3 separate regions of the Homo sapiens genome follow, and regions 1 and 2 are each linked to region 3. The links are contacts of gene promoters, found by promoter capture Hi-C in blood cells and fetal thymus (Javierre and others, 2016). All regions are on one chromosome and are shown on one strand. The core of a region is centred on a gene start or on the middle of the fragment in contact, and the rest is flanking DNA. Distances in the headings are between cores, read along the strand shown. Region 1 has its middle 270 kb from the start of SYNE1-AS1. Region 2 holds the start of MYCT1 (MYC target 1). Region 3 holds the start of SYNE1-AS1 (SYNE1 antisense RNA 1).

Evidence for each region. Contacts are between HindIII fragments. The CHiCAGO score rates a contact against its expected background, and 5 or more counts as called.
Region 1: a fragment that was not itself captured here is called in contact with the fragment with the promoter of SYNE1-AS1 in region 3 in 1 of 17 cell types (neutrophils); the score reaches 6.5 in neutrophils.
Region 2: the fragment with the promoter of MYCT1 here is called in contact with the fragment with the promoter of SYNE1-AS1 in region 3 in 1 of 17 cell types (endothelial precursors); the score reaches 5.3 in endothelial precursors.

Annotation. Positions count from the first base shown.
Region 1 is chr6:152,112,608-152,115,537 of GRCh38, forward strand. It overlaps a transcript of ESR1 not described here. Among named protein-coding and RNA genes, the nearest start is that of SYNE1-AS1, 270 kb to the right of the region's middle. The HindIII fragment of the contact is 6,058 bases long and covers 1-2,930 here.
Region 2 is chr6:152,696,427-152,699,259 of GRCh38, forward strand. MYCT1 (MYC target 1) reads left to right here and starts at 1,471. Exons shown (of 2, transcript NM_025107.3): 1 at 1,471-1,672. The coding sequence starts at 1,477. The HindIII fragment of the contact is 10,649 bases long and covers 419-2,833 here.
Region 3 is chr6:152,379,074-152,382,051 of GRCh38, forward strand. SYNE1-AS1 (SYNE1 antisense RNA 1) reads left to right here and starts at 1,457. Exons shown (of 2, transcript NR_120501.1): 1 at 1,457-1,520; 2 at 1,987-2,640. SYNE1 (spectrin repeat containing nuclear envelope protein 1) reads right to left here. Exons shown (of 146, transcript NM_182961.4): 56 at 1,933-2,289. The HindIII fragment of the contact is 6,155 bases long and covers 1,054-2,978 here.

The sequences.
Region 1 (2,930 bases), core at 57-2,556, 270 kb before region 3:
ACTGCCCATTCCCACCGAGCTCTGGGAAACCACCTATGTGCTCTCCTTGCCGGAGGGACATACCCAGCCCCAGAACGAAACTCTGCAGAGGGGCCAGCTACTGGCACTCCTGATGTCAGCACCAGCAGCTGACCTGGCAGGCGCCCAACCAGGAAACGAACAAGGGAAACTGGAAGCGGCCAAGGGATTTGCAGAACCTTCTGAGCCCACTGCAAAAGACCATGCCATTTCCATTCTGAAGACAAAAACGTGAAGTCCCTGTTCCCAAGACCCCCTACAGAATCCAAGAAAAAACAAAAAGGGAACATCAAAATGAAAGAGAGAATTCTTCATGGATGGATGTCACGAACGTGTTTTCAGGGAAGAACCCCAAATGGCAGTCAGATGGAGGTGGGGCGAGTGCTGAGCTCACCCAAAGAGGATGCCCATTCTGAGAACTGTTTCAGGAGAAAGAAGCGCAAAAGGCCGGGGCGCTGCCTGTCCCACCCTGCCGCCAGTGCTGTGTGTCTTGGGTGGCTCTATCACAGGTCAGCAAATTTTTCTGTACAGGGCCAAAGAGTAAGTAGTTTAGGCATTTCTGTTTGTTTGTTTGTTTGTTTGTCTCTCTTTGCTTTACAATTCTTTGAAAATATAAAACCCATTCTTAGCTCAAGGGCCTATAAAAACAGGCAGGGACTGTAATTCCCTGACCTTTGTCAGGCACCATCAAGCCACAGGTACCCTCCTGATGAAAGGAGTAAGAGTCCCTGACAGGTGGTCCTCTGCATGGGGCGGGGGGCACCTGGAAAGGGAGGGCCTGGGAAATGCACTCATCTGGGAGGGAGTCTTTCCATTCCCACTGGCTGAGTCCTCAGTTACCGCAGGGCTGTCGAGAGTCTGAGACAGAGGTCTGCCCTACAACATTGTGCTGAGAAGTAACGAACTGAGCTGTACACTGACACATTTGTGAAGAGGGAAGATCTCATATTGTGTGTGTGTGTGTGTGTGTGTGTTTAACCACAATCTTAAAAAAGAAAGAAACAACAATTTTAACAATTTTAAGAGACTTTCTCCTCATAAAAAAGATTAAAAACAAGTGTGGGAAGATCTGGTAATTCCCAATAGCGATTTCCAAAACCAAACTAGAGGAACGACTAAAATAGCGTTAACTGTCCCTCAGTCCTCATCAACACATCCTATACATTAATGTATTAACGTCATAACAACCCACGCAGGAGGCACCATTATTATCCCATTTTACAGAGGAAGAAACTGAGGAATAGAAAGTTTAAGTAAGTTGCTCAGGTTATACAGCTAGGAAGTGGCTGAGCTGGGGACTGAGCCAAGGTATTTTTGGCTCCAGAGTTTATGTTATGGAAGGAGCCTCTGTAAGATTTGGACAAAAGGGATTTTATAAATGTCCAGATCATTAGCTACTCTATCAGTTTTCCCACTGTGATTAGCAAACACCATAGGGAAGGTGTGGGAGGGAGGAACTGAGCCCCGTGCCCAAGCCAGGCTTGGGTGGGCAGAATCCTGTGTGAAGCTGTTGAATGGGAACAGATTTCAACGCAGAAGGAAAGCAGGCTGACTCTCTGGCACCTGCATCAGGAAAGAAAGGTACAGGTAGAGAAGCTGCCTATGACTTTCGAGTCACTGTCCCTCCCCGCCCCATCATTTCTGGGGACCAGTCTGCGACTCAAGAACTGATTTCACCTGTGAGCAGGGTGACTTCTGGAGGCAGGTGGTAGTTTAGGAAGTTGCGGGTTTTTGTGAACATGTAGGTCTCATTTGGACATCTCTCCTAGGAAAGCTCATCTCCTAGGATTCATAAATCCCCCAGTCAGGGAGCCTCCTTACCTCAAATCAGGCCTTTGCTCTTATGCCATGAAACCAACCATGCATTTAAGATGAAAACCTAGAGCAAAGTCATCCATTAGAATTTGGCCACTTTTAATAAATGACTTGTTAACATTTATTTCGGGCATACCAAGAAAAGTTTTTTAATTAAAAAGCAAGTCAAGGCCGGGCGCGGTGGCTCACGCCTGTAATCCCAGCACTTTGGGAGGCCGAGGCGGGCGGATCACGAGGTCAGGAGATCGAGACCATCCGGGCTAAAACGGTGAAACCCCGTCTCTACTAAAAATACAAAAAATTAGCCGGGCGTAGTGGCGGGCGCCTGTAGTCCCAGCTACTTGGGAGGCTGAGGCAGGAGAATGGCGTGAACCCGGGAGGCGGAGCTTGCAGTGAGCCGAGATCGCGCCACTGCACTCCAGCCTGGGTGACAGAGCTAGACTCCGTCTCAAAAAAAAAAAAAAAAAAAAAAAAAAGCAAGTCAAATGTTTCCTCATATAAGAACTGAAGTACTTTTCTTTTGTCTTTTAAAATTATCATTATTCTTATAGCAACTTGGATCTAAAAAACAAGTCATGCTCCTTGATGTAATTTAAATACAAATGTTTAAAGTGCTTTCCCCACTCTGACTGCAGTCAAAATGTCAAGCCTTATATTTCACATGTCTCTCCAAACTTTCACCTTGCTTCATGCCATTACTATATACACGAGTTTTTCCCTACAAAATGGAATCATATTATTCTATATCTTGTTTTTATAAAATGTAAGAATATATAGTAGGCATTTTCCCTAATCAATACATATAGATTGATTTCATTTTATAAAAATAGTTACGCCATACTGAATACTAGGTATGCACTATAATTAATTCAACAATCCTCCTGCTGATGAACATCTAGGTTGCTAGAAAATTATAACAACAGGGGGCCTCTCTGTCTTGTCCCTGATTGGTTTTGGGACAATTATCTATTCATTTGGAGAATGACAAACTAGTTCCTTACTTCATACTAATGACAAAAATAATTCCAGATAGATTATAGACCTACTAGAAGAAAATGCAAAGAAACTTTTGCATAATCTTAAAATAAAAAAAGGCC
Region 2 (2,833 bases), core at 221-2,720, 320 kb after region 3:
AAATTTTCTATGACGTTTTATAATTCTCTTAGATGATTTATATTTTAATTTCTAATAAATTTATACTTAAATTCACAAAAAAATGAGACTGATCAGAAACAACCTCATTTTGGAAGAAGCAGGACTGCAAAAATTAATATAACTGTCTTTTTTTGTTGTTTTCTTAGAACTACTCAGGAATATATTACAGACTTCACAAAGAGGAATACTACTTTGCACTAAGTCATATTCTAATGACTAATAAGTTAGAATATGATTAATACAAGATATATGCAAGAGTTCAGGCTAGAGTTACTCAAAGATTGATGAAGCCAGATCATGGAATGCAGTTTAGCGCAGTTACTAGGTGCAGTTTGACACGTTATTCACAATTTCCAGTGCCTCCAAAGTCCTCAGAGGATCCAGTCTAAACAAGCAAAGCTTGAGGAAAGACTCTTGAAATGTTAACTAACTTGTGTTTCTCAAAATGTTTCATGTAACTCTTTCCTATATCAGTTCTCAAACTTCTCTATAAAAAACAAATTCCTGAGATCGTTGTACCCTTTGTTATAGCACTTAACAAACTTTGTAATGAAAAATTTTGCATTTATGTTTTCCCTCCTTGATTTTAAATATATTTCTTCAATGTAGAAACTGTTTTTTCATACTAAATACTAAGTAAAGAGTAACACAAATTTTATATAAATTACACTTAGATATTTATGAAATGAATTAAATAACTTTCAAAATTTGTATACCAAATAGAGAAACAGACATGTTAAGAATATAGTGGCCGAGCGCAGTGGCGCATGGCTGTAATCCCAGCACTTTGGGAGGCCAAAGCAGGTGGATCACTTGAGGTCAGGCCTAGTTCATGACCAGCCTGGCCAACATGGTGGAACTCCATCTCTAGTAAAAATACAAAAATTAGCCGGGTGTGGTGGCACGCGCCTGTAATCCCAGCTACTCTGGAGGCTGAGGCAGGAGAATCGCTTGAACCTGGGAGGGGCAGGTTGCAGTGAGCCGAGATCGTACCACTGCACTCCAGCCTGGGCGACAGAGCGAGACTAAGTCTCAAAAACAACAACAACAACAACAACAAAGAATTTAGTAAGTATCTGAGTTTTGAATAGTCCTTTCCCCCAATTTACTATATAAATTTAATTTTCAAGCATTGGAACGTGGTCTATTTCTCAATTCTGTATACATTTAATTCAAGGTGCTGTAGCTGAGAGTTTGGAGTCTTCCTTTCCATGTCAGTAGGGGATGAGGAAACACACACACACACACACACAAACACACACACACACACACAACCCTGTTATCCTAAAAGCAGTTTTGGAGGTGGCTGAGAGGAGAGAACTTAGGAACTTAGCTGAGGAAATGATGAAAAGGACATTGTTTTGTGTCTCAGGAACCATGTGGAATTCCAAGATAAGAAAAACAGTTGCTAATTTGAGTATAAAAGCAGGAAACATGATACACTTATTTCCTTTTATGCGAACACAAGTATATGAGGGGTTGTGTAAAAATTATTTTTCTCTTGCTGTACTACAAAGAGATAGAATCAAACTGCTTTTTTTCGACATACTGGTTTTTCTTTCTGTTTTTCTTCTCTTTCTTCTATTTCTTGTGGATATTATGGCTAATAACACAACAAGTTTAGGGAGTCCATGGCCAGAAAACTTTTGGGGTAAGGTATTTTCTTTTACTGTTTAAAATTTAAAATTAGGATGTAAGAAATGCACTGCGTGATTATTAAAACAGTGAAAATCTCTGAGACATTTTGTTTACTATAATGTGATTACTTAAAGTTTTCATGTTTATTAACAGAAATCTATTTCATACGTTTATTAGCAGAAATATATTTATAGATATAAATATATACTTATATATTTATTTGTCTTTATAGTGTTCTATGAAGATATTCAAGAAGAATCTGGGTATTAAGTACAGATTTTGGCTGGTGTTACAAAATATAATTAGGAAATAGTGAGGATAAAAATAAAAAACATAAGGTGGAGGTAATTCCTGCTTAGAATATGGCATGTAGATTTTGTTGGAAAAATTAACTTTCATTTGTTTGAAGGTTATAGATTATATATTTTATTTTATGAAACTGAGATTTTCCATAGAGGCTATTTTCACTTATGTTGTGAATGTTATATGCTTTAATTTCCAAAGTGAATCCTAATAACATCTGTACTTAAATGAGTGAATTTAAAGTGCAATAACACAGGTAAAATAAATGAATGACTTTAGAGTATAACAAATAAAACATGGAATAATATGAAATTTGAGAAAACTATAGTAGAAAAGATTAAGTGGAAATAACATCACGTGTAACATTCAATGGAATCCTATCACAGGGGTTGGGGGGAAAGAACAATACAAAAGTATTTTTTGGAGAATTTTTTGTCTGAGTCCAGCCACAGCTAACAGTCCAGTGTTCCCTGATGTTGACAATGGGACTGTGCTGAGGTCAAAACTCAGTTGCTCCAGGTTAGAGGTACAAAGAAGATGGGCTCACATGGGGAGTTGACATGTACTCTTGGGTTCAGGGAAATTTTTATATTAAAGGAGGCAATTTAAATTAAATTCAGAAAAACACTTTAATGAAGAAAATAGTATATATGGACAGATCTGTTTATATGGCCAGAACAAGTTTTTAATCCTCTCAGTGTACAATTCAGACTTTCTGCTGTGATTCAAGGTGGGGTTTTGGGAACTTTCACATAAACAGTGAGCAGTAGTGGCCGACTTTTCCCAGCAATCTATATGTCTACCATCACAGAAATTTGCATGAAAAGAATTCACTCCAGTCCTTTAACCTATGTACTTTCTTAGATGAAAA
Region 3 (2,978 bases), core at 207-2,706:
CTTAGCATTCAACAAAAACATAAAAATACTGGAGATTCAAGTCAGTTACTTATGAATGGGATGACATTAAAAGTGAAAAGTTTTTGACCAAAACGTTACATTTAAAACATTTCTATAACTTCATCCTAAAGTATGTCAGTAGAGTCAATATATAAATATCAGCTTATGTATTTCTGATTCTGTTAAGTTCTAGAATGCATCTTTCCACCTTATACAGCTTAAGAAAATTATTTCCAAAGCTAATATCCCAAAGGATATTAAGATAAATGAGTTTCGCAAACATAGTAAATAGAATTATTTTTACAATATTATATTATATACTTTATAGATCATCTGTTTTTATGTTTTAAAGAATTTCTTGAGTATTGTCATCTAATTGCATAAAATAAATACTTTAATTCTTATTGTGATCATCAACAATGACAAGTCCTCCCTAAAAGCAAAACAATGCCCTAAGAACCCTAGCATATTTACTATTTTGTTAACATTTTCTTACATATTCATTGTGATAGAAATATCTCCACTTTTAGATAAAATGCCATTATTAGAAATAAAAGAAAACATGAATATTGAGAAGCAATGTAGCATTGTCATCAAAAGCATTGACCCTGGAGTCAAATCTGGAAGCAGACATACACAGAGGGCTGTCACATTTGAACTATTTAACACAACTGAAAACCCATATTTACTACTGCATTCTCATGTATATTTTTATAGGCCTCAACCATTATTTTTACTAATAATATCAACGTAAAAATAATGAACAGAATAGTAATGTAATCTAGGCACAGCCAAATCTTTCCTTTTTAAAAATTTCACTCTGTGACTGGAATAGAAAGAAAGGGAAAGAAAAAGGAACCAAGAAAGTGTAACTGATTTTTTCATATTATACCATGTAGAGCAATTATCAACTTCTTTGTCCCTCTGTGACAGAACTGATTTCTATGCTTTATTCTGGTACATAAATCTAAAGGACAGGAAATGGAACAGAATAACAAAAACAAACCCCCAAACCTAGAATCATTATAAATAGAGTAGCATAAAGAGGTAGAAAGCTTTATTTTATGGCATGCTGCATTTGTTTCAAATACTTGATTTAAAACCAGACACTGCTGGAAATACTACATGACTTTCTTACTGGCAGGAGCTATTTTGAAATGATTGTAATATAAATAGGAGCAGAGAAGTTTACTAAATTTCCTTTTAAGGACATCCATGAATCAGGGCATTATAAAACTGGAAATATTGAAAAGGCTTTCAAAGATACTGTTTAACAGTGAAAGAAACGAAGAAGAGGTTACACTCTTGCTCATTCTTCGGTCTCCCTTGTAGGCTTCCCTTTCTCACATTCTAAAGAAGCTGCCATTAGCTTCAAAAAAAAAAAAAAAGTCTCGGGAAGGTGACCAGGGAGGGTGACGTAGAGTTCTGTTAACAGGCTAATTCAAGAACAGCTGTCAAAACCACACAGAGGAGAGCTAATCGGGGAGATAACTATTTGCTGTGCTGTAGGAGATTACCAAGTGAGTCTTTTAAGGCTATAAATTCAATCATTTAGTTGTATGAAATAGTTAACTGGCAAGAAAACAGCTATGACTCTCTGTCTATTTATGCCCCTGCCCACAGGCCATTTTTCAGACTGAATGGCTGAATACAGTATTACAGACTCTTACACCATAGGAATGAAAGTAAAATGTCTCCACTAACAACAAATGTTTCCTACCGCAAATAATAACCCAAATCTTTATTTTTACAAAAGTTTGATATATAAGAAAAGGAAACAAATCAGACTTTGCTTATTTAATGAGATAAATACTTCTTCCAAGTGTGCATGTTGCGTGTTTTTAGTTAGCAAGATTTTTTTTTTAAGGAATGATGAAAGTCAAAACATTTTTTAAAGCATAACCACCAATAGAAAACAGGAAGCCAACTTACTTGTCCTTTGTGCCAGCATTCCACTATCTCCTCATCCGTGTTCTTGCCTTCCAGGAGGGTTAACTGCTGAGCCCAGGTTTTCAGAAGGGCACTGAACTGTTCCAGGGCCTGCTCCAGTTGAGCCACTTGGCCTGAGAATTCCTGCTCCGAAAGGGCCATCTGGCTGACCAGGTTCTCCAAACAGCTCTGCGTTTGGAATACACTGTCTTCCCACTGCTTCCAGTCGGCACGCAGGGCCTGCATCTCCGTGTGCATGAGCTCACACCCACTGGCAGTTGTGTTCTGTTTCACTTCGGGAGCCAGCGACTCCACTCTGCTGAGACGGCTTGCACCAATCTCTCTGGAATCTATCAGCTCCTGTAATGGAATATCACCATGGTAACTGAAGAGCCTGTGAGTCACTTGGACTGCAAGTTTTCAACTGTGTACACAGGGGGACCCTGTCCTGCCAGGAAGTTTTAACAAGTGTGCCACAAGGACCCAGAATCAATTCATCTGTCCACTCTTAAATTATAATAGCGGGAGTTGTCATCACGAGTGCCTAAGGCTTATGGCAAAAAAATCCCGAGAATCCTCAATATCCTGAAACAGACTAAACAGAGACCCTGAAATCAGGCATTATTCGCACACGTGAAAATGTTTAGTGACTCAAGTGTTTGCCTGTGGTGGATTGCTCCTGTGAATGATTAAACCCATATTTCCCTCAAAGTGGATGCTCAAGTAAATAAAGATCGTGGCAGAACTGTGTTCTGCTCACGGTCTCTATACTCAATTCATCTTCTTCAACAGGGTGGTGGCTTAAATCACACTTCCATTCTACTAGGAATCAAGCAGACTCATCACAGCAAAAGAATGAGCCCTACTCGATTCCAAATACCTCAATACTAAGTAAACATTTTTGTAGCATATAAAATGAATAATTCATTCATAGACTGACTTACTCAAAAGTTTAAAGTAACCTCTAGACTGAGTACATTTATTAGTATTTTTTTACCTTAAAAAAGTCACTAGAAATTTAACAGTTTAGCTATAGCCAAGTTAACAAT